Linked DNA regions of Homo sapiens: region 2 is linked to region 1. The links are contacts of gene promoters, found by promoter capture Hi-C in human tissues and cell types (Jung and others, 2019). All regions are on one chromosome and are shown on one strand. The core of a region is centred on a gene start or on the middle of the fragment in contact, and the rest is flanking DNA. Distances in the headings are between cores, read along the strand shown. Region 1 holds the start of SPIB (Spi-B transcription factor). Region 2 overlaps ACP4 (acid phosphatase 4).

Region 1 (6,793 bases), core at 1,597-4,096:
ATCCTCCAGCTCTACCCCCACCCCCAGTGACCCACATCTTAGCCCCATGACCTCTGACCTCCTGACCCCTTCCTCATCCTTGCTTCCCCTTGTGAACTCTGACCCTTCCGTGGTGACCTGAGAGCCCTACAGACTCTGTGGCCCAGAGACTCCGTGACCTCCGACCCCATCCCAGACCCAGGCCCCCCCCATGTCACAGCCCGCAGGCAGGCCTAGGCCCTAAGCCCCAGGCCCCATGACCACCCCGTGTCCACCCCGGTGCCCTTTCCCTGGCTGCCCGGGTGTGACTGCCATGTGGCCGCAGGACCCGCTGTTCGTGCTGGAGCACAGCCTGCCCATTGACACGCAGTACTACCTGGAGCAGCAGCTGGCCAAGCCCCTCCTGCGCATCTTCGAGCCCATCCTGGGCGAGGGCCGTGCCGAGGCTGTGCTACTGCGTACGGGGGCACCAGGGGACTGGGGGCACCCTGGGGGGGCAGAGGAGATCACCGGCCCACCACCTGCCTCCTCTCCTGCAGGGGGGGACCACACGCGCTGCAAGACGGTGCTCACGGGCAAGGTGGGCGGCCTCCTGGCCTTCGCCAAACGCCGCAACTGCTGCATTGGCTGCCGCACAGTGCTCAGCCACCAGGGTGAGCGGCCCTGGCCACTGGGCCCCCACTGGCCCTCAACCTGCTCTGCCGTCACCCCAGATCCTAGACACCCACCCCATCGGCTGGCACTGCCACCCAGTGGGCCCAGGGCCCCTGGGTGGGTGGCCCCTGTCTCCACCCCCCACAGAGGGTCCTCGGCCCCCACCCCGGGAGTTCCCCAGGGGAGTTTTCCCAGCACACTTGCTCCGTTGTTCTCCAGCCTCTGGGGACTTTCAGAAGCTGGGATTGGCAGTGGGCAGGGATGGGGTGGCCCAGTTCCTGGCTGGGCCCCAGCACTTGGGCTGACCCGCCTCCCCACAGGAGCCGTGTGTGAGTTCTGCCAGCCCCGGGAGTCTGAGCTGTATCAGAAGGAGGTGAGAGGGCCGGGAGGTGAGGAGGGGCCAGGTGGGGAGGCGGGGGCGCCCTGCTCAGCCGCTGCCGTCCCCAGGTATCCCATCTGAATGCCCTGGAGGAGCGCTTCTCGCGCCTCTGGACGCAGTGCCAGCGCTGCCAGGGCAGCCTGCACGAGGACGTCATCTGCACCAGGTGTGTGCCATGTCCCGACCCTGGGCTGCCCCGCCCCTTCCCAGCTCCCAGGCCTGTGGGTTGTGGACCCAACCTCTGACTCCAAGGCCTCTCCTGAGCATCCTCCCCGCCCATCCCCTTCCAGCTGTGAGCTGTCCTGAGCCTCAGTGTCCTTGTCTGAAAAATGGGCCCATCCCAGCCCCCCAGAGGGGGTGGGTGCTTAGGGAGGCAGCGCCCGGCACCCAGTGTTGCCCGGGAAACGGCTGTCCTCCCGACACACCCAGCCAGCCTGGCCCCCTCCCCAGGGCGGGGCCGGGCTTTCCCCAGGGAACGGGTAGGCGGGGTGGGTTCCCACGCCAGGTGACAGGTGATATACGGCCAGCCATGGCCCTGCACCTCGCCAGGCACCCGCTGTTATCGGCTCCCCCCCCCCACCCCCCCCGTGCCTGCTGAGCAAACAGCCCGCTGCGGGAGGGGGCGGGTGGGCTGGGCAGCAGGCGGGGACCAAAGTCCTGGGAACAGCCCCCACCCCTCTCCCAGGCTGGGCACTGGGCCTTGGCTGGTCCTGACCCTGCCCCTGCCCCCACCCGCAGCCGGGACTGCCCCATCTTCTACATGCGCAAGAAGGTGCGGAAGGACCTGGAAGACCAGGAGCAGCTCCTGCGGCGCTTCGGACCCCCTGGACCTGAGGCCTGGTGACCTTGCAAGCATCCCATGGGGCGGGGGCGGGACCAGGGAGAATTAATAAAGTTCTGGACTTTTGCTATATGGTGCTTTGTGGTCTCTGGGGGACACTGTCTGGTTTCATAAGCCCTGGCCTTGGCTGGGACCCTCCTGAGGCCCGCACCGCCCCTCATCCTCAGCAAAAGCCCCCGGACTCCCACCTGTGCTGCCTGGTTCATGTGGGCCAAGCCTGCCTCAGTTTCCTCTCTGGCCCTGAAGGAACCCTTATACCAGCGCTTCTCTGCCCTGCTTAGGGCCCCCAGGTGTCTGGCCCCGGCCCAGCCCTCCCTGGTGATGACCCTGGGGACCCTGGTGGCTGCCCCGCCCTCCAGGTGCTGACCTGTTTCCTCCAGGCCCTGGGGCAGCCCCAGGCGCACCGGGGCTTCCACTCCTCAGCCCGGCCAAGGGGACCCCCCCATCCCCCGCCGGACCACACACCCACGATGTTTCCACGTCGGGGTCCTGGCAATGGGCTTTGGGTCTGGGTTTCCCCCCAGCGACTCCCATCTCTATCCCCGCAGCCTCTAACTGCCGTCAGATGCCCTCGGCCCTCCCGTCACCTCACACATCCCCCGGGGAGAGTCTTGTGCTTGCCCCTCGGCCCCCAGCCCGCCCCTGCTGGAATTCGGCTCCTGGGTCCAGATCCTCCGTTTCCTGATTCTCCTCTTCAGTGAACCCCAGCCCTTCCTCGATGTTTTCAGGGTTCCCCCAAATCCAGCTCCTGTCCCATCTCCAGCCCTCAAGGTCAGCCCCCCAAACCCAGCCCCACGGGGATCCCCAAATCCAGACAGCCCCTGGCCCGCCATCCCTGCCATGTGACAAAGGGGTTGTGCAATCCAGCCCCCTCCCCTGACCCCCTCCCTGAGGGGATTTTTGAGGAGGGCCGAGCTTGTGGCCAGCGGGCACCCTCCTCCCCCCGGCAGGGGCTGGGCCAAGATATAAATAGGGTTGGCGGCTGCAGCGGGCGGCAAACAGCCCGCCCGGCACCACCATGCTCGCCCTGGAGGCTGCACAGTAAGTGAGGGCCCCCAAACCTGCACCCGGGGTCCCCACCTGCACTGCCCCTCTGTGGGGCCTCACCCATGGGCAGTGGTTTCTCTGCTCCTCACGGCCGGTGGGTGGGAGTGGAGGGGAGGGGTCCACCCTGTCTCTTGCCCCTTCTGGTTCTGTTCCCTCTTCACTTCGGACTCTCCATCCCCCCAGTTCCTATCTTTCCTGGTCCCCAAAGATCTCATTTCCCCAGAACACTTGCTAGCGTGCCCTCCTGCGGGCGTCCTCCGTGGCTCTCACTCTGTCCATCCTCCTGTCTCCCCGAGTTCCCGTATCTGTTCGCTCTGTATCTGGCATCTCCCAGCTCTCAACATTCTGCCTGTTGCTCTCTGTCTCTCTGCCTGTCTCTGTGTCTCTGTCTCCAGTTCTCGCTCTCCCTGCCTTTTGGTCTCCTTCTGCCTCACCCTCACTCTCAGTGCCTCCATCTGGGGCTCCAGGAATCCTCCCCGCCTCTGTGCGTGAATGTCCCTTTGCACACCTTTCTCTGTGTCCCACCTCTCCTTGAGCCTCCTCATCTGAGTCTTCTCCGGGCTTCCCCCTCTCTACCCAGACATCTCTCCATCCTTCTCCTCTGGTCCAAGCTGGACTCAACTGACTCGCCACCAAGGCCGCACTTGACCCAGGCCCCCTCTCCATCCCCACACCTCCTTTCCGGGACTTTCTCTCCCTCACTTTCCCTGCCCCTCCCCACCAGGGTGTCTATGCAAATTCTGGGGAGGAGGGGGACATTTGCCTCCCCCCCACCCCCCACTTCCTGTCCCAGCAGGGGGTAGTGGGGGAGTCCGGTGAATGTGGTGGGGCTGGTCCCTCACACAGGGCTGCGGTGGTCACAGCTGCTGCCGCCTCCCCATCAGCCCCCAACCACTTTGAGATTCAGGTGGCTGGAGGCAGCCTCAGCATGCCCCTGTGTCTCTCCCCCTCCAGGCTCGACGGGCCACACTTCAGCTGTCTGGTGAGTTGGGGCCCCTGGGGGCCAGGGAGGGGTGGCCCACAGTGACCTCCCTCAGAGAAGTCATTTGCTTCCTGCCTCAGTTTCCCCTCCCACCTCTTCCTGTCACTTTGTTTCTGAGCTCCCCCTTGGTATCTCCTGCTACCCCGCATCCGTATTTTTGATGTCTCTCTCCCCCTCTCAGGCTTGAATCCACTTCCTTGTGGCTTTGTATCTCTCTCTGCCCATCCCATATTCAGACAATGTATTTTCATGTTCCTTTCCTTCTTTTTGTTCGTATTTTTAAAAATTGTGTTCTCTAACAGTTCAGATACGGAATACTATACCCAACACCCTTGAACCCACAATCCAGTCTGAGTAATCAAATCTTACTGATGTGGTTGAAAGAAAGCCCCTGTTTATGCCCCTCCACATTCACACCCCAGCCATGTTTTTTTTGTTTGTTTTTGTTTGTTTGTTTTTTAATTGAAGTGTAACTAACAAGTCAGTAAAGTGACAAATCTTGTGTTTTTGCATTATCTATACACCGTGTAGCCACAAGCCAGATCAAGATACCGAACATTTCAATCTCTGAAATATTCCTTCCTGTCCCTTCTCAGTCAATACCTTTCTCTGATATTTTCCGCCACCAATTTGTAATTTGTTTTGCCTGCTCTTTTTTTTGTTTTGCTTTTTGAGAAGGAGTCTCGCTCTGTCACCCAGGCTGGAGTGCAGTGGCAGCGTCTTGGCTCACTGCAAGCTCCACCTCCCGGGTTCAAGCAATTCTCCTGCCTCAGCCTCCCAAGTAGCTGGGATTACAGGCATGTGCCACCATGCCCAGCTAATTTTTGTATTTTTAGTAGAGGCAGGGTTTCACCATGTTATCCGGGCTGGTTTCAAACTCCTGAGCTCAAGTGATCCTCCCACCTCAGCCTCCCAAATTGCTGGGATTACAGGCGTGAGCCACCGCACCCAGCTGCCTGCTTTTGAACTTTATGTAAAGTGAGTCATACAGCATGTCCCTTTTGGGGTCTGGCTTCCCTCACTCAACATGAAGTGTGTGTCAGTGTTTGTCCTTTTTCCTTGCTGTATAGTACTCTATCTATGATCAGCCCACACCACAGTCTGTTTATCCCTTCTTCTGTTGATGACACCTGGGCTGTTTCCAGTTGGAGACTCATAATAAAGCTGCTGGGATGATTCTGGAACAAGGCTATTTTGTGCACATCCATTTTCAGTTCTCTTGATTAAATGCCAAGGAGTGAGACTGCCAGGTCCTAGGCATGGTGTGGATCTAGCTTTAGTTTTTCCTAGACTCGAGTTCTTGAAGCAACAACACATGATTCATGGGGCGAATCAACATATGGAGATTTATTTATTTATTTATTTATTGAGACAGAGTTTTGCTCTGTCGCCGGGCTGGAGTACAGTGGTGCGATCTCGGCTCACTGCAACCTCAGCCTCCTGGGTTCAAGCGATTCTCCTGCCTCAGCCTCCCAAGTAGCTGGGACTACAGGTGCGCACCACCATGCCTGGCTAATTTTTGTATTTTTAGTAGAGACGGGGTTTCACCATGTTGGCCAGGCTGGTATCGATCTCCTGACCTCATGATCTGCCTGCCTTGGCCTTCCAAAGTGCTGGGATTACAGGCATGAGCCACCATGCCCGGCCTATTTATTTTTCGAGACAGAGTCTCACTCTGTCACCCAGGCTGGAGTGCAGTGGCGCGATCTCAGCTCACTGCAACCTCCACCTCCCAGGTTCAAGCGATTCTCCTGCCTCGGCCTCCAGAGTAGCTGGGATTACAGACATCTGCCACCAGGCCCAGCTAATTTTTGTATTTTCAGTAGAGATGGGGTTTCCCCATGTTGTGCAGGCTGGTCTCGAACTCCTGACCTCAGGTGATTCACTGGCCTCAGCCTCCCAAAGTGCTAGGATTACAGGCGTGCGCCACCACGCCTAGCTAATTTTTGTATTTTTAGTAGAGACGGGATTTCACCATGTTGGCTAGACTGGTCTTGAACTCCTGACCTCAGGTGATCTGCCCGCCTCGGCCCCCCAAAGTGTTGGGATGACAGGCGTGAGCCACCACGCCTGGCCTGGAGGTGTATTTAAAAAGCATTGACCCCTGCCTCTGTTAAGTGAAACACTTCCATTTCCCCTTGCCCTTCACCTCCGGAGCCCCCAGGCAGGCAAGGCTGGGGGAGTTCTTCCACCCCTTCTCCAGGCGCCCTGATTCGCTGACTGTGTGCCAGTGAGGGGCCAGGGTTCTTGGGAGCCCACCGTCTTAGCAGGAGCTGGCTGCTGTGTGCCCCTATTGGGTTGTGTCTCTACTCTCTGTATCTCTGTCTCTTTGTCCCTGTCTCTGATGCCTAGTCTCTGTGTTTCTTTGTTGCTCTAATCTCTCCAGCATCCCCTCTTCTCTCCCATGTCTGTGTTGGAGTCTCCCCAAGGGTCCAGGGTGGGGGTTGGGAGTCCCCAAGGCCTGGGATGACCCCTCTTCCCTCCTGCACCCCGTATCAGTACCCAGATGGCGTCTTCTATGACCTGGACAGCTGCAAGCATTCCAGCTACCCTGATTCAGAGGGGGCTCCTGGTGAGTGACCCCAGCCCTGTGCCCTTCCTGCCTTGGGGCCCATTTCACAGATAGGGGAGCTGAGGCCCAGGGGAGGTCATTTCCTAGCACAACAGGATAAAGGTGGCCCGGGCCTATAGCCCTCCTCCCCTTTCCTCTCCTACCCATCCGCTCCTCCATGCAAATCCTGGGGTCAGAGATTTGCACAGCCTACAATGGCCTCTCTGTGCTGGGGGCTTCGACTGCGAGGAGGCCTCCGTGAGACATCCCAGCTTCTGACTCAGTGCCCTTCCCCCAGACTCCCTGTGGGACTGGACTGTGGCCCCACCTGTCCCAGCCACCCCCTATGAAGCCTTCGAC
Region 2 (7,262 bases), core at 860-3,359, 380 kb after region 1:
CACTTTGAGAGGCTGAGGTGGGCAGATCACCTGAGGTCAGGAGTTTCAGACCAGTCTGACCAACACGGTAAAACCCCGTCTCTACTAAAAATAAAAAAAAAAAATTAGCCAGGAATGGTGGCACACACTTGTAATCACAGCTACTTGGGAGGCTGAGGCAGGAGAATCACCTGAACCCGAGAGGCAAGGGTTGCAGACAGCCAAGATTGCGCTACTGCACTCCAGCCTAGGTGATGGAGCAAGGCTCCGTTTCAAAACAAAAAACAACAACAAAAAAACACTGTTATCCACATCATGATTTCCCAGCCAGATCCAGATCCGGCCCATGGGGGGACTCAGAAGAGCAGGGGGCAGCACAGGCCTGCGGGGCCAGAGGCAAACTCGAGGGCTCAGGATGGTCCATCTGTCCTGTCTCCCCACAGCAAGCCCACGGTCTTCCACTACCAGCCTGGGCCTCCCCAGATGTCCTGCGGACTCTTGCCCAGATCTCGGCTTTGGATATTGGAGCCCACGTGGGCCCACCCCGGGCAGCAGAGAAGGCCCAGCTGACAGGGGGTGAGGTGTGGGTCTGGGAGGCTGGGGTGCCTTCCTCTGGGAGAGTCTAAGCTCTTTTTTCCCATCCTCAGGGATCCTGCTGAATGCTATCCTTGCAAACTTCTCCCGGGTCCAGCGCCTGGGGCTGCCCCTCAAGATGGTCATGTACTCAGCTGTGAGTCCTTGGGAAGCAGTGCCACATGGCACTGAGGCACAGGGATGAGGGTGACAGCGATTTAGGTGAGGAAGAGCCTGTGGTCCCAGTGGATCTCAGCCCACTGCCTGGGGTAACCCGTATCTCCAAACCCTACTCTCAGGCTCTACCATTAGTCTGGAAAGAGGGAGGTGACGGTGTTATGGGAGGAAGAATTTATGAATAAATATAATTCCTTGTTTTCTTTAAGAAACTATGATTGGACTAAGCAGTCTGTCCTTCCGGAGGAGAAAGGCTGCTTAGTCCAATCATATTTTGCACCTACTTGAGCAATCTTTATTAAGTGGCCGCCTGCAAATGTTGGTACTGCCTTCAGGATGGGAGGAAGGAGTAGCTTTGGGGGGTTGGTTCTAAGAAGCCTGGGGGACATCTGGATGCGCAAGTGTAGTGCTCAGGAGAAAGGCCTCCAGAGAGAAGTGCCGTCTCAGCCCTCGGGTCCACCTGCAGCATGACAGCACCCTGCTGGCCCTCCAGGGGGCCCTGGGCCTCTATGATGGACACACCCCGCCATATGCTGCCTGCCTCGGCTTTGAGTTCCGGAAGCACCTGGGGAATCCCGCCAAAGATGGAGGGTGAGAATGGTTTGGTGCCCAGGGACATGGGTGGGACAGAACTCTCAAAGCAAGGGGTGATGTGTCAGGCAGAGGGCATGGCCAGGTGGGGAGCTGCATGGGATGATGCTGGGAGGATGACAGGTGGGAGTCAGAAGCCCTTTTCTCCAGGCTTTAAGATCAATGACAGGAGGGAGGAGGTGCCACCATGTCCTCTCTCTCCAGGAATGTCACCGTCTCCCTCTTCTACCGCAATGACTCCGCCCACCTGCCCCTGCCTCTCAGCCTCCCCGGGTGCCCGGCCCCCTGTCCACTAGGCCGCTTCTACCAGCTGACTGCCCCGGCCCGGCCTCCCGCCCATGGGGTCTCCTGCCATGGCCCCTATGAGGCTGCCATCCCCCCAGGTGACAGTCCTCTGTGTTGGGGTGGGAGTGGAGGGTTGCCAAGTCCTGGCACTCACCCCCCGCGTGTTCTCCCTGCAGCTCCAGTGGTGCCCCTGCTGGCCGGAGCTGTAGCTGTGCTGGTGGCACTCAGCTTGGGGCTGGGCCTGCTGGCCTGGAGACCAGGGTGCCTGCGGGCCTTGGGGGGCCCCGTGTGAGCCAGAAACCAGGGCTTCCCTACCCCCAGCTGACACTGGACCCCAACATGTATGCTCAGTAGCTGCTCTGGCTTCTGTGACTTACTGTGCGCCTGTGTGCATGGGGAGCGAGGGCTGTGTGGAGTCTCCGGCCTGGAAACTAGTTTGTGTGTGCATGTGTCTGTGTGACGGTGGCATGAGTGTGCATGCATACGTGTCACATGTGTGAACAGTTTCTGCACTTAGACGCGTGCACAGGTGGTCTGTACGTACATGCTGGTAAAAAACATGTCTGTGACACACATTCAAGCACAAATGTACCCATGTCTGAACAAGCAGGCATGCCTGCATGGCACTTTTCTTGTAGAGACAAGGTCTTTGTGGCCCAGGCTGGAGTACTGGCATGAGCATAGCTCACTGCAGCTTTGAACTCCTGTCTCAAGTGACCCTCCTGTTTCAGCTTCTACAGGCGTGCACAATGCCTGGTTAATTTTGTTTTCTTGGTATGTTGGCCAGGTTGGTCTCAAATTCCTGGCCTCAAGCAATCCTCCTGCCATGGCCTCCCAAAGCACTGGGATTACAGGTGTGAGCCACCACACCCAGGTGGTATGTTTATGCACCTTTCCATATGAGCACTGGAAGCAGGTAGGCTGGCTGAGGACATGGTGGACCCTGTACGTACCTCCACTTGCAGCTTGTGACAAGGCCTTACTCAGTGAGCCTCAATGTGGACCATGTGCTCTGTGGAGACCAGGCTCACAGGAGTTGGACCCTCAAGTCTGGTTATTTGGTGACCTCCATAGCTCTCAATGCAACCATGAACTTGGGTAGAGTCAGAGGGATCTGGCAGCAGACCTGAGAAAGGTGCACGATTCAAAGCCTGGTTTCCGAGGCTGTGCGCCTCTGGGCAAGTGATAGGCCCTGATGTGTCTCACTTGGCAGAACCACGACTCTAACCCAGTGGACTCCACAACTCCAAAAATTAACTTCCTAGGGACAGGTAGAGAGCAGGGAAAACCGATGACACTCTCGGCTGTGCACTGTAACTGCTACAAGTAATGTGGAGGCGCTGGCCAATACAGTAGCCATGACCATGTATGGCTATTTAAATTTAGGTTAAATAAAATGGAGTGTTCAGCTCCCAACCATCACATGGGCCACACATCCACCACTGCAATCATTTCTCAGATGCTGATGAGAGCTACTCCTCCCACACTCATGCAGCAGCAGGCGCTGTGGAGCACCTGCACGGGTGCCCTTTGAGCCCCTGGCCCCCCAAGGGGAGGCTCCCATAGTGTGGCCTAGAGCAGAGCGCCCGCCCCTCCCAGGCCTTGCCCCACACCCATGGCTGTGTGGCACTGTCTAACCAGGGAACCCGTAGGGAGCCCTGGTACAGTGGATGCTTAATAACAGCCACTTGGCCCCCATTAGATGGGGCAGTCGGAGAAAGGTTCAAAGCCATTCCCAGTGACCCAGGACCTAAAAAAGGCACAGGATCCAGAAACGCCAGGGAGTGGAAGCTGGGACAACCCTTCCTCCACACAAGGGCCACCTGCATACTGCCCTAGCCCATTTCTTCCCAGGGTGCTGAGGGCAGCCTCTCATGCAGACTCATCCCTGGGGAGTCCCCAGACCTGCCTCACTGCCCTACCCGGCATTCCCTAGAGGAGCTGGGTGGTCATGGGCCACCCCAGATGGATGCCAGGAGCCACGACCCTGGGAAGGCTGAGGAATGAACACCCCTCACACTTTCTGGCCCTGGGAGGGAGCCTGGCTTCCTTGCAGGTTCATGGAGACCCCAAGTGCCAGGTGGGGTTACCTGTGGCTGTGACCAACTCCCACCTGGTGGCAAGAGCCCACCCTTTCCCAGCAGCCTGCTGGAAGGACCTGTTCAGAGCTGGGGGCCTGCTAGTGGGCAGAGGCCTGGGTGGCTCCCCCTGGACGCAGCTCAGCAGCTGAACCCACAGAGGATGAAGCACCAGAGTTTGGAGTGTTCTGTCCGCTGTTTAACAGGGGCCCCTGTGCCCAAGGCCTCAGCTGTGAGGTCAGAACTGCTAGGGCTCAGTGAGTCCTCACAGAGCTGTCACCTGAGATTCCGGCCCCAGCACACCCTAAACCCAGACCAACACAGAAGCCACACACAGCAAAAGCAGACCCATCAGAAGGGACTGGCTGCCCACAGCACACAGCCAATGCACGCTTTCAGAGAAGGCATAGCAACAGAGACCTTAAGAGAAAACCCGTGACAGGCCAGGCATGGTGGCTCACACCTGTAATCCCAGCACTTTGGGAGGCCGAGGTGGGCGGATCACCTGAGGTCATAAGTTTGAGACCACCATGGCCAACAATGGTGAAACCTCATCTCTACTGAAAATACAAAACTAGCCAGGCGTGGTGGCAGGTGCCTGTAATCCCAGCTACTCCGGAGGCTGAGGCAGGAGAATCACCTGGACCCAGGAGGTGGCGGTTACAGTGAGCTGAGATTGCGCCATTGCACTCCAGCCTGGGCATCAAGAGCAAAACAGTCTCAAAAACACAAAACAAACCAATCCTTATAAAAACGGAGTAAAAGCTTCAAGATGCTTTTATGTCAAGGGTGTGGGGTTGCCCTGCTTGGCCTGCAGTGCTTTGGGGCCCCATGTGGTGGAGGGGTGGGCACCCATGGTACCCACCCACCCTGCTGCCTGGGCAGAAGTGCAACATGGCACACGATGCCTGGGGGATCACTCCCCCCAGGGACTCATGGTCAGTGTCCACTCACAAGGCCTGCTTCCCTCATGACATCTGGCCAGTGACACCCACAGGGGAGGTTGGGGGCAGACACCCTTCTCTTCCGGTACCCTTGAACATGGTGTCAGGGTGTGGCTAGCTCGACGGACACCGAACAGCTCCACAGGGAGGGTAGTGCCCAAGGCTTTTTGCCTCCCCTACCATGTCCCGCACTTCCTGAATGCAGCTCAAACCAGGAGCAGCTCCCCCAGGATTCTGGCCTGCTTCACCCCTGGAGCACCAGGCCAGGCGGTGTCTGTCCTTGAGAGCCAGGCCCAGGTCTCACGGTGGCGTATGGACAGCTCCTCCCCATAGGCCTGGTCACAATAGGGAAGCGGGGGTGGCTCCTCCCCTAGCCTGCAGGAAGCCCTTGGTAGCCCACTTATCCACCTTCTCCTGGGTGTGTGGCTCAGCAGCCAAGTCCTTGTGCACTGGGTTGGGTCCCAGCATGAGCCTGGTGGCCTGGCGGGCCCTGGCACCATGGAGAGCAGCCTGCTGCCAGTGATGGCCTGGATCTCCAAGACGGCCTCCAGCACTGTCATGCCCTTGACCAGCTAGTGCTGGTACAGGACCTGGGTAACAGGCATGTCCTTGGGCGTCACTGGCTCAGGGGCAGAGGACGAGGTTGAGGAGGAAGCTGGATACCCCTGTCCATGGTGGGCTGGGGCTGGAAGGGTGGCTCAGTGGCCTCGAAGTGCCGGGAGGACTCCCAGCTGGCACCAGGCCATCAGCAGCCGGGTGGGCAGTGCCGTGCTGCTGTTGCCCTCAGGGCCTTGCAGTGGTAGCTGAAGATGGCACCTTATCAGGTTGGATCAGGTCACCCGGCAGCAGCAGCTCTCGAGAGCTGAGGCACAAGGCAGGGGCCCGGCTGTACACCTGCAGGACCCAGGAGAGCCTGTTGCAGTTCTTGCCCGAAGCGCCGAGATAGCCAGCTCAGTGTCCCTGCAGCAGGAGCAGAACCAGCTCTGGCCCAGGTGGGTGGGTGGCAGCGCTTTCCTAGCCATGGCTGCAGCCACGCCTAGGCAGGAAACAGCAGAGTGTCTGGAGGGATGCTGTCAGGGGAAGGACACAGAAAAGGCACGAATGGGGGAAACAGCCACACCCCCACCATCACCTCCCGGAGTGGGGCCCCTCAGAACCCCGGATGTCAAAGGTCCCGGGGTGCACCGTGTCCTCAGGGGCAGTCAGAGCCCAGTGCTGGACATCACGGGGTCCCCAAGTGCAGCCCTTTCAAGAACCCTGGACACTGGACATCTCACTGCAACCCAGCCCCAGCCCCCATCCCACCTCCGCCCCCCAACAGGGTTACTAAGGTTAATGAGCCCAGTGCTTAGGGCAGCGCCTGGCTCAGCACTTGCTGGGCACCTGTCTACATCTGCCTTCTCACCAACACCAGGAGTAACAGGCAGCCTCCTCTGTTCTTAATGAGTGATGGTCAGGCCCTTCAGCACCTGGAGGCAGGAGGGCACAGGGGAGGGGAGAAGGTCAGTGGGGTGCAGGGCAGCCAAGATACCCACCAGCCCTCCCCAGAGCCAGGGCCCCTCAGACCCCCGGGTGTCAAAGGTCCCGGGGGGCACCGTGTCCTCAGTGGCAGTCGGAGCCCAGTGCTGGACATCATGGAGGCCCCGGTGCCCTCACCCCCTCCTGATGTGGGTCCCAGGACCACCTACTGTCCTAAGGGGGACATCACAGAAGAGTGCTGAGAGATCAGGCAACAAACTGAATGACACTTGGTCCCTGGGGGTGCCAGGCTACCTCCCCTCCCCATCCAGCTCAGCCTGGGTATGGCTCCTTGTATGATCTAGGCCCACTGACCTCACCCCTCCCCGCCCCCCAGCAGCAGTGTTTCTCTGGAAAACGGGACTAGAGATGCCTGCAGACAGGCACATCTGTGGGGTTCAGTGAGAGGACGGGGCCAAACCCTTCTGCTTGGGCCTCCCATGCCTAACGGGATACCCCTCAATCGCCTCTGCTGCCCCCGGCCCAGCTCTTCTAAGCTGCTCTGACTTCACCAGAACCTTCTGTGACATGGGGAAGGGGCAGCTGCCTCTCACTGGGACCCTGGCAGGATAAGTTCAGTTTATTCTCCGCAAAAGCACTAACACTGTGGGTGCTCGCTCAGTGGGTGCTGCTGTTTAACAACCTCAGAAACACCAAAAGCCCCATTTTGCATAGAAATATGCTTTGTAGGAAGAGGGGGGTCCTTGTTTAAACTAATCAAGGAAAATTAAAAACCCAGCCCCCAGCCACAAACTAGCCACATTCCAGGTGTCCAAGAGCCACCCGTGGCCAGTGGCTGCCAGACTGGACAAGGCGAGGAACATTTCTATCTGGACAGTCGTAAGGAAGGCGCCGGCCCAGAATCCACAAATGCTACGTGTCCCTTCTGTCTCCCTATCCCGCATCAGCTCTGTCGTCTCACCTCTCACACATCCCTACCCAACTGGCACCGACACCACTCATGTCCCCAAGAATCCCCTCTAAGCCAGCCATGACAAACGCTCAGCTCCATTCACTACCCCACAGAGGATCTCGGATTAAGAGCACAGGACCCGGCCGGGCATGGTGGCTCACGCGTGTAATCCCAGCACTTTGGGAGGCTGAGGCGGGTGGATCA

The links. Contacts are between HindIII fragments. The study calls those that stand out against the background at their distance.
Region 2: a contact is called between a fragment that was not itself captured here and the fragment with the promoter of SPIB in region 1, in 1 of the 25 tissues and cell types used here (spleen).

What each region holds. Positions count from the first base shown.
Region 1 is chr19:50,416,092-50,422,884 of GRCh38, forward strand. It overlaps SPIB (Spi-B transcription factor), which reads left to right and starts at 2,847. Exons shown (of 6, transcript NM_003121.5): 1 at 2,847-2,894; 2 at 3,855-3,882; 3 at 6,382-6,454; 4 at 6,732-6,793. The coding sequence starts at 2,872. POLD1 (DNA polymerase delta 1, catalytic subunit) reads left to right here. Exons shown (of 27, transcript NM_002691.4): 23 at 305-437; 24 at 519-632; 25 at 954-1,006; 26 at 1,081-1,178; 27 at 1,751-1,923. The coding sequence ends at 1,856. RefSeq lists enhancers at 1-322, 214-273, 3,694-3,743 and silencers at 1,474-1,613, 1,644-1,703, 1,986-2,154. The HindIII fragment of the contact is 45,060 bases long and covers 1-6,793 here.
Region 2 is chr19:50,793,262-50,800,523 of GRCh38, forward strand. ACP4 (acid phosphatase 4) reads left to right here. Exons shown (of 11, transcript NM_033068.3): 7 at 423-555; 8 at 627-709; 9 at 1,196-1,320; 10 at 1,525-1,703; 11 at 1,782-1,958. The coding sequence ends at 1,897. SNORD88B (small nucleolar RNA, C/D box 88B) reads right to left here and starts at 5,864; the gene lies at 5,768-5,864. SNORD88A (small nucleolar RNA, C/D box 88A) reads right to left here and starts at 6,274; the gene lies at 6,178-6,274. It overlaps LOC105372439 (a long non-coding RNA gene), which reads right to left and starts at 37. Exons shown (of 4, transcript XR_936026.3): 1 at 1-37. It also overlaps the pseudogene C19orf48P. RefSeq lists enhancers at 1,024-1,083, 1,174-1,303, 3,724-3,843 and silencers at 1,774-1,833, 2,084-2,143. The HindIII fragment of the contact is 9,212 bases long and covers 1-6,715 here.